Linked DNA regions of Homo sapiens: region 2 is linked to region 1. The links are contacts of gene promoters, found by promoter capture Hi-C in human tissues and cell types (Jung and others, 2019). All regions are on one chromosome and are shown on one strand. Each heading gives the region's core, a stretch centred on a gene start or on the middle of the fragment in contact. The rest is flanking DNA. Distances are from core to core; before and after follow the strand shown. Region 1 holds the start of KIT (KIT proto-oncogene, receptor tyrosine kinase). Region 2 overlaps LINC02283 (long intergenic non-protein coding RNA 2283).

What was found. Contacts are between HindIII fragments. The study calls those that stand out against the background at their distance.
Region 2: a contact is called between a fragment that was not itself captured here and the fragment with the promoter of KIT in region 1, in 1 of the 25 tissues and cell types used here (H1 embryonic stem cells).

What each region holds. Positions count from the first base shown.
Region 1 is chr4:54,654,257-54,659,547 of GRCh38, reverse strand. KIT (KIT proto-oncogene, receptor tyrosine kinase) reads right to left here and starts at 1,591. Exons shown (of 21, transcript NM_000222.3): 1 at 1,467-1,591. The coding sequence starts at 1,533. RefSeq lists a silencer at 2,012-2,306. The HindIII fragment of the contact is 17,872 bases long and covers 1-5,291 here.
Region 2 is chr4:54,338,178-54,342,951 of GRCh38, reverse strand. The region is part of intron 1 of LINC02283 (long intergenic non-protein coding RNA 2283); the gene reads right to left. Among named protein-coding and RNA genes, the nearest start is that of LINC02283, 7.7 kb to the right of the region's middle. The HindIII fragment of the contact is 8,366 bases long and covers 1-4,774 here.

The DNA.
Region 1 (5,291 bases), core at 342-2,841:
GCAGACTGCGCCTGGAGACTTTATAGAGAAACTGACCGGTAGTCGACAGTCTCAAAACCGTTCATTGCGCCGCTTCCTTTCAAGCGCTTGATTCCAGCTAAGACTCACTTTCTATCCTTACATCATCAGGGTAACCTTAAAGGTTTGTTTTAAAAAATGACCTGGGAGATAGCAGGGCTTCAGGGGTGAGCTGGGCGACCTGCACTCGCCCGCACCAGCGACACCTGGAAAAAAGGGAACGGGAGGCAGGAATCTGACCAAGGGGCTCCAGCAACCTGCAAATCCTTCACCTAAGACCCAGTTCCCGCGCGGATATACCTGGATTTCTGTTATAGCTTTAAGAACTGAGTAGGATTTGCAGAAAGTTCCACGCCATCTCCCACCCCACCCCCAGGCAGCCCTGAAGTATAGAAGTCCCGGGGGCGGGGAGGCGGGCGGTCACGAATCTCAAAAATTTCCGAAGAAAACAGGACCTGCGAATACAGGTCGCAGACACCGGGAACTAGGGGCTTTCAGAACCCGCCAGGCAGGCCGGGCACTCTGGCCGGCGTGCTAGGCGGTTGGAGTCAGGGAACGCAGAGTCCCAGCACGCTGTCCCTTGCCTTCCCGGAGCAGGCGGCAAACACAGCCTCCAGCCGCCCCGGGGCGCGCGGCAGGAATGAAACGGCGCCGCGGCAGAAAGGGGCGAGCACGGGATGTACGAAAGCAAAAAGTCTGCAACCTAGCGGCTGCTTTCCACACGCCCTGCCCAAGTTGTCCCTGTCGCCACCACCTCCAGGCTCGCGGGAGTCCGGCCCCACAACAGCCCCACGCCGCGCACTCCCAGCGCAAAAGCCTAACCCGGAGGCGGGGAAACGCCGCAGCCTTCGATTGGTCTCCACGGGTGGCGCCGCGAGCAGAGGCGGCAGCGGGTCGGTCCCCAGCTCTGGGCACAAAGAGCGCCTGCGGTTGGAAGGCAGTAGCCGCAGAGCAGAGAAAGGGCTCTCTAACTTTGCCCTCAGCGCGGCGGAGAACCTGCAGGCAGGTCCTCCCGGGCGCCGGTCACACACACGCAACTTTTAACAAAAGGAAGCTGCGGCCGCGCCTCGCACGGCAAGAGAAGGCGCTCGGTGCAAACCCCTGAGCCCCCCGCCTCCGCCCCCCGCGCAACGTCGGCACAAAAGCCACCCCAAACTCGCACGGAGCCTGCAGCCTCGCTCACGCCTAACCCCCTCTTGCTGTCCCCATTCCCGAAGAACCCCGGATTCGCGTCCCCCACCACCAGCAGCTGGGGTCTCCTCGCGCAGGTGAGCGAGGCAGGGCGCCGGAGAGTCCGAGGGCCACCTGGAGTCTCCCCGGAGGCTGGAACGCACGGGCACTGAGGGCCCGCAGTCCTCTCTCCGGATGCACCCTGGCGGGTACCACCCTCCCAGGCACAGGCTTCGCCGAGTAGTCGCACGGTCGGGGTGCCAGCCGCGGTGTCCCACCTGTCTGGACGCGAAGCAGTAGGAGCAGAACGCAGAGAAAATCCCAGGCGCCGCGAGCGCCTCTCATCGCGGTAGCTGCGATGGGATCCGAGCTCTGGTCCACGTTCCAGCTCTCGCCCAAGTGCAGCGAGCGCGGCAAAGCCGAGCCCCCAGAGCCGCGAGCGGCGAGCAGCAGCCCCTCCTCCCAGCGCCCTCCCTCTGCGCGCCGGCCACGCCCCTCCTCGCCTCCCCTCCCTCGCGCCCGCCCGGGTCTCGCTTCTTCCCGGCGGCGTCTGGCCCCTGCTCTTTCGACGTGTTAATGCCGGGGGGCCGTGCCCGCCGGGAGGAGGAGGGCGCGCGCGCCCTCTCTCCCCGCTCTTGACTCCGGAGCCCCTTTCTCTCTCCACCTTTCCACCCCTGGGATGTGGACGGCCAGGCTGAGGCCGTTCCCGGACCAAGGAGGTGCTGCCCGCTCGCTTTGTGAAGCTGGGCACCACGCACACGTTAGGGCACGGGCCCGCCACCTGCCAGGTGCTCCCCAGACAATAAAGGTCGACTGCCCGCCCCTCGAGCACGTTCGGGCGGGAGGAGGCTGGACGCCGCTGCTCGTGGAGGTGGCATGGGGATGGGGAGGGGAGCGTTAGGAAATTGAGCCCCGACATTCCCCTCCAGGCCTGTTAGGAGCTCCTGGCACCGCGGTAAAGGCTGAGCCCGGTTTCGCTAATTGTTTCTGCTCAATTTCTCCACCTGCTTCGTAACCTGTAGGAACACAGTGGGTTCCTATTGGTCGGCGTGGCCTCCGCCCAAGAAGCCCCTGCCGGGACTTGTGTGGAGACAGGGGCGATGGAGGGCGCGTGGCGAAGTTTGCTCTGGGAGCCCAGGTTTTCATACACGTTTTCCCCCCTCCCCCCAACGCTGCCAACCCCAGTAATGATTTCTCTGCCTCTGTAACAGACGACAGTTTTAGGGCTAGGGCTCTTAACTGCCCTTGCCGGTCCCAGGAGCAAAATAAAAGTACAATGATTCTCTTAAGCCCGATTTCACTGCCCAGAAAGTGCCTTACCCACAGTCTCATGGTGGATCCTTGAACGGAAAGCAACAACAGTATCTGTATAGGGGTTAATAGTTCTTCCCCACAGCGACTCGTCTTTTCATGCTCACGATAACAGCTTTGTGAGGAGGGTAGAGCAGGTATGTTTATTATTGTAGTGAGGGAAGACCCAGGGCTTGAACACTTATTGGAAGACCTACTCCAAGAAAGATGAGCTTTCCCTATGCATTCTGATAAACTAATAAGACATCCCTCCTGAGAGCTTAAGAATGGAAAAATAAATGGCAGATGCCCATCAGAAAAAGGGATAGAACAGATACACCTAGACTCTTCTCTGAAGTATCATCCAAAATTTACAGTTGCCCAGCTGCCCCACTTCATTTAATATTGAAAGCTCTCCTGTTGTTTAATAGTGTGAGGACCCAGGTTGATGTAAGAAAAATGATTTTTAAAGCTAATCACTTAAAAATTATCAGTGCTAGAGGGTGATCAAATGATCAATGTGTATAATTGCCTCTCTTTAAATGTAAGTATTTACTCACTCAGCAAGCATTTGTTTAGTGTCTGCTGTGAAGCAAGGAGGAGCTAGGTACCAGGAGTACTATTATTAATAGACAGATATGCAGATGTGGCCCCTGCCCTCACAGTCCTTATAATCAAGTATGGGGACCTACATCCCAATCTCCCAGCAAAAGGTTCGAGTCATGCGGCTGTAGGAGAACTGAAATACCAAAGGTCTCTGTGCTCTGGGCCATCAGATCTCATGTTTTTCTTAGGATGACAGATAAAAGATACCACTCAAAGCAATCATAAGTTTCTGGGATCTTGATTTATTTCTAAAATTCATTTTGTATTGAGAAAAAATCACTATGAGTTAAAATATCAACATTATGCCTGAGAGAGAAAATTTACAATTTTCTTCTTCAATCAGCTGATATTGGAGAGGATAACATCTTCAAAAGAGTGGGTGAAAAGAGACCATATTGCAATTTAATTCTAGGCACGGAACTTCTATCAGGAAAAAAAAAAACTGAATAGGGAGTTATACCATGTTGGACCGTCATTCCTGTTTTTCATTCAGCAAATATCTTTTGAGCACCTAGGTAGGCATAAGACCCACATAAATGAGTAAGACAAAGTCTCTGTCTAGGGGAATTCACAGTCCAGCAGGGAAAATAGGTACTCAAGTAAGAAACTATAATATCTGCTAACAGAGCTTATGTTCAGCCAGTACACACCAATTTGGCCTTATTGGTTGACACAATATTGAAATCCTTCTGTACTGATTACAAAAAAAACCATACCCTAAAATATCTCCCAGCCCAACCTTGAGACACGCTAAATCTCCTTAGATCCAGGAATTAAAATTTTAATGCTGGCCACAACAGAGAGCCTCCAGTACTTGTACCTTTAGGGTTGTTAGCTGTTTTTAATAATACCCACTGCCTGTTACATAAAGAAAGGAAGCATATATATAAGGCACTATGAGTGGACATATATGCTGTAATATATAAGGAACTATATTATAGATCAGCAGTGTCCAATGGAACATTGGCAATGATGGAAATGTTTTATATCTCAGGTAGGATGTATGGATTAATTCTATACTGTATTTTGTGATAGTCCTGGGCATGTTCAGGGATTGTGCTTTATGTATTTCATTGTTTTCATAATTCTTTTAGCAAGGACTCTCGATTGCAACTTATAGAAGCAGCTTAAATTAAGCAAGCAAACAAAGAAGCCTAAATGTATTGGCTCTTATAACCAGAAAGTCCAGGGACAATAGTGTTTCAGACTTTCCTAGATCCAAGGACTCAAAGTTATCAGGACTTGAAGGGCGAGTGTGTGTGGATGCATGTGTGCACAAGTGCACGTACACTTTCCTCCACCTTTATCCTCAATACTTTCCTGTGTTGTTTTGCCAACCTTGTATACACTCAGGGCAGCTCTAGGCTTACAGCTCACTAGTACCAACGGAAGTAGAGTTTTCCTGCCCCCATAAACATCTCCTGTAAAAGTTTATGGGAGAAACCGAGTCTCACTGACCTGGCTTAAGTCATGTGCCCATTGGGAAGGAGCCAGAGGGATGGAGTATGCTGATTGGCCATGTCTGAGTCATGTGCCCACCCCTGAAGCCGGGGTCAGGGATCCACTTCACACCAGAGGCCTGAGATGGGGAAGGGTGCATCCCCAAAGAAAAACTGATGCACCATCAACAGAAGAAAGAGTAATAATGCCACACAAATACAACTAACACAGCTAAAATCTCGAACTTGAAAATATTTTATTATATTTCTGACTGTAAAAGATGCTTATTGTAGAAAATTTGGAAAATACCAAAAATTATAAAAAACAAAAAAGGCACTCAAGATACAATCACTGAAGAGTTTGTTTTAATATGTTCCTTTCTTTTTTCTCTATTTATGTGTGAGGTTTTTTTCCCTTTACATAATTTAAGATCTTGGTATATTTTCAGTTTTCTATCCAGCTTTTTCACAAATAACATGAGCATTATTACAGATCACTAAAAATCCTTTGGAAACACACTGTTTAATGGCAGTATAATGTTCAATTTTATGGATGTACCATAATTCTGGGTGTTTAATCATTTCTCTCTTTTTTTTCCAATTTTTTTACTATCATAAATTACTTGATGATTAATGTCTTGGTGAATAAAACTTGCCTGCTTCTGATTAGTTATTAAGTATGCATTCCTAACCAGGGGTGGAATTACTACAACAAGAGTATAATCCTTTTCAAGTTTGCTTTTTAATAGCTTTTCTTGGTTTTCAGCA
Region 2 (4,774 bases), core at 480-2,979, 320 kb after region 1:
ATTCTTGGATTTCCTTGCATCGTGCTTTGTCTTTCTCCGATCCCTCCCTGATCACCCTAATAACTAACCTCCTGAATTCTTTTTCAGGTAAATCAGAAATTTCTTCTTGGTTTGGATCCATTGCTGGTGAACTAGTGTGATTATTTGGGGGTGTTGTAGAGCCTTGTTTTGTCATATTACCAGGGTTGGTTTTCTGATTCATTCTCATTTGGGTAGGCTCTGTCAGAGGGAAGGTCTAAGGCTGAAGGCTGTTGTTCAGATTCTTTTGTCCCACGGGGTGTTCCTTTGATGTAGTACTCTCCCCTTTTCCTATGGATGTGGCTTCCTGTGAGCCGAACTTCAGTGACTGTTGTCTCTCTTCTGAATCTAGCCACCCAGCGAGTCTACCTGGCTCTAGGCTGGTACCAAGGGTTGTCTGCACAGAATCCAGTGATGTGAACCATCTATGGGTCTCTCAGTCATGGATACCAGCACCTGTTCCAGTGGAGGTGTTGGAGGGTGCAATGAACTCTGAGAGGGTCCTTAGCTTCGGTGGTTTAATGCTCTATTTTTGTGCTGGTTGGCCTCCTGCCAGGAGGTGGTGCTTTCCAGAAAGCATTAACTGCAGTAGTGTGAAGAGGAACCGGCGGTGAGCTGGGCCCTAGATTCCCAAGATTACATGCCCTTTGTCTTCACTACTAGGGTGTATAGGGAAGTACCATCAGGTTGGGGCAGGGCTAGGTGTGTCTGAGCTCAGACTCTCCTTGGGTGGATCTTGTTGCACCTGCTGTCAGGGATGGAGGTGAGATTCTCAGGTCACTGGAGTTGTGTACCTAGGAGGATTATGGCTGCCTCTGCTGAGTCTTGCAGGTTGTCAGGGAAGCAGGGTAAAGCCAGCAGTCACAGGCCTCACCCAGCTCCCATGCAAACTGAACGGCCAGTATTACTTCCACCGTGACCCCCAACCAGTATCCCTGAGTATATTTCCAGGTAGAGGGCGAGAAGGGCTTGAAAACTTGCCTGAGGCTATCTGTCTCCAAGCTGTGGGGGAAAAAAAGGGCTTAAGTTCTTCCCCTGCCTATGAAGTCTGTACTCCAGATTTGCACCCTCCCCCGAGTTCTGGCCAGGAGGCTTCCCGCCCGTTCCAATTGTTACAAAGTTCAGCTAGAGAATTCTTTCTCCCTGTGGAGTTTTACCACCTGCCCCTCTGGCCGCCCTCCCTATGGATCCCCGTGGTGCCAGTCAGGAATTGGCTGCTTGGGGACCCAGCGAGCTCCCAGGGCTTTTCTGCTGCTTCCTCTACCCCTGTATTTTGCTCAGCTGTCTAACTTGACTCAGTTCCAGGTAAAGTCGGAAACTTCTCCCGCAAACAAACTTTCAGCTTCTCCAATGGGGGTGTGCTTTCGGGAGAAGAGGGTCTACCTTTCCCACTTCTGCAGTTGGGGCACTCACAGTATTTGGAGTGTCTCCCCGGTCCTGCAGGAGTAGTCCACCTCTTTCAGAGGGTCTGTGGGTCCTCTCGGGATTGCTGGTTTGTTCTTGCAGTCAATCCGGAGCTAAAATTCACAATGCAAGCCTCCACACGCTGCTCTCTCCAGAGGTGCAATCTAGTCCTGCCTCCCATCCGCCATGATCCTCTAGTTCCAATTTCTATTTAGGTTTATTTTAGAGTCCAGACCTGGTATTCAACATGTAGCCACAGCCCCACAAGGTTACCAAGCACTTGAAATGTGGCCAGTCCAAATTAAGATACGTTATAAATGTAAGATGCACTCCAGATTTCCAAGACTTGATGCCAAAAAGGAATATAAAATATCTCATTAATAATTCATTATGTTATATGATAACGTGATATTTTTGATATGTTGGGTTAAATAACATGTTATTAATTGCATATAATACAAAATTTGTTTCACCTGTTTCTTTTTACTTTTTAAATGTGCCTACTAAAAAAATTTAAATTATATAGGTGCTTTTATTATATTTCTATTGGACTAGTGCTGGTCTAGACTCTTAAGGGAGGACACAGAATTTCCATTAATTATTTGCTACTTTGAGCTAACAAGCCATTCTTTTAGAAATCAACACAATTCAAAGCTCTAGCCTTTCAGATTATAGTCTTGATTTGTTTGATTTGATGCTTCCTTCCATTTACCTGGGGGAAACAAGATTTTTATATTGGTATATACTAAAAGTAGTTTTTGTATTTCATGTGCCCATTCTGATGCTGTTTGATCTCTTGGCACCTCCAATCTATAGTCCTGTGGTCCTCTCCAGACAAGCTGGGTGTTCCCTGTATTGATAATTCAGGAAGAGGTAGGTGGGCAGACAGGAGGCTGAAACTTGGAATATGGGCCTTTTGGGCAGATGAGGAGACTTGGTTATTTCTCACTCCCAAAGATACTCTCCTATCAGAGGCTTAACCATGCCCCTTGCCCATCACCAGGGTCAGAGAAAGAGGCATCTCCTTATGGAGTCACAGCTGAATATGAATAACCTGCGATTCACAGGCCAGCCTTTCTAGTTCTTATTACTCTTTCTGTTTGTATTTTTCATTTTCCCTAAACCTATAATATGGTCCAGTCAAATGCTAGAGCTGTATCTTAGCTCTACTGTGGGGTAGCAAGGGAAGGATAAAGTAGCCAAGCTTGAATAAGAGTATATGCTTTTTCTTTGCACTTTAAAAATATATCTTCAGCATTTCCTTGTTATTATGTTATATGTTTTTTCCAAAGAGTGATTTGTAAAGGCTGCATAACATTCCATTATATAAAAATACCACAGTTTTTTAAATCCCTTACTGGATTTCCTGCCTTCCTTTTTTCTTTTTTATTTTGTAGGTATAACTACAATGGCCATCCTTATCTGGAATTCAACAACCTCGAACTGGGCTCAAGCAATACATTCACTTTAGCCTTCCGAGTAGCTGGGACTATGGACACATGCCACCGCACCAGGCTAATTTTTATTTTTTGTAGAGATGGGGTTTACTACGTTTCCCAGGCTGGTCTCAAACACCTGGCCTCAAGCATTCCCCTCACCTAGGCCTCCCAAAGTGCTGGGATTACATGAATGAGCCACTGCACCTGGCTTCGTGCATGATCTTGATTATATATTTTCCTTGAAGAATTGTGGAATTCTAGGATAAAAAGATTTTTGAGTCTCTTACTACATTTTGGAAAATTGACATTCTGAAATATACCAATTTATTCTGCCACTGATATCCCTATTTTCTTATAATTTTAGGATTTGGAAGAACTGGGCCCATATCAAACCCATATCAGCAAATGGAGGAAGTATATGTGGTCCCTATTAGGCCACTGTTTGCTCAGTTCTTGGTGTACCTGAGAGCCCCCAAAAACAGCTTGTTGACATCTCTTAAATTGAACCTGCATTTTTGGTGCAGTAGGAATTATGTGGGCTGGGGAACCACTGAGAACTGAAGAAGGAATCCTAACACATCCATTTGTGAACTGTGTCACTGTGGGCGCAGTATTGAACCACTTGCACCCTTGATCTTCTCATCTTTCACATGGGGATGGCCCTACCTACCTCACAGGACTATGGTAAGGTTGAGATGAAATCACACATGTAAAGCACCTGGGAGGAAGCTTGTCCTTAACCAGTATTAATATTCCACCCAGAACCCCACCCGAACCCCCTTCTCCATTCCACCAGTTCCTCCGTCTCATCCCTGCCCCCACCTCATAAACGACAGCAGTGGCTTCTCTAACATCTTAGGATTCTGAGTTTGAATAAATTACTAATATTTTTATTTGATTTGATGTTCAAAGTCTCTGACCAAAAGTGAACAATTTAATTATTTTATTTTATTCTATTTTATTTGAGACAATGTCTCCCTCTGTTGCCTGGGCTGAAGCTTAGTGGCGCAATTATGGCTCACTGCAGCCTCGAGCAATCCTCAGGCTCAAGCAATCCTCCCACCTCAACCTCCCAATTAGTGGAGACTACAGGCATGCACCACCATGCTTGGCTAATTTTTTAAAAAAATTTTTAGAGATGGGGTCTCACTATGTTGCATTATGTTGTCTCACTAGGCTGGTTTTGAACTCCTAGACTCTAACGATTCTCCTACCTCAGCCTTCCAAAGTGCAGAAATTATAGACCTGAGCCACCACACTCAGCCTGAAGGTGAACAGTTTACAAGTCAAGGAGAGAAATTGTCCTTTCTGTGATATTGCCAGACTCCCCCTGGCTGAAGATTACTATATCAGCCCTGTGAGTGATAATCAGGCTGTTTGGGCCAACAGCCTCTCAAATGAAACTTCTCTCTGGTTTGAAAAGAGCTTTTTTTGGGAGGAATGCCCACATGAATATATGGTTTTCTGTACTGAACATCTATCAACAACAGTGAAATTAAGTCAAGAAATTTTTAGCTATTTACAAAGTCATAACTGAAATTTGTGTTACCATTCCTTTCTATTTGCGGTCATTTAATGCATGAGTTCGTGATGAAGTTATGACCAAATACGACTTGAATTCATGATTTGTTTGGAGGGGAGGGGGCAGATTTTGCTCAACATTTATTACAGTATTCATTCAGTGAGATTTTATTTAGCACTTGCTGCATGCCAGGTGATGAAACAAGTACTGCAGATTAGGGCCAAATAAGGAAGACATGGTTTTAGATTCAGAAGCTTCCAGTCTAAAGTAAAGACAGACAAGAAACAAAAGACAATAAACAAAAATGTTACATAAATTACTGTATATTGTGAAATTATGATAAGAGCCACAAAGGAGGAGAGGAATGCCTTGATTGTATTTGTGTCTGGGG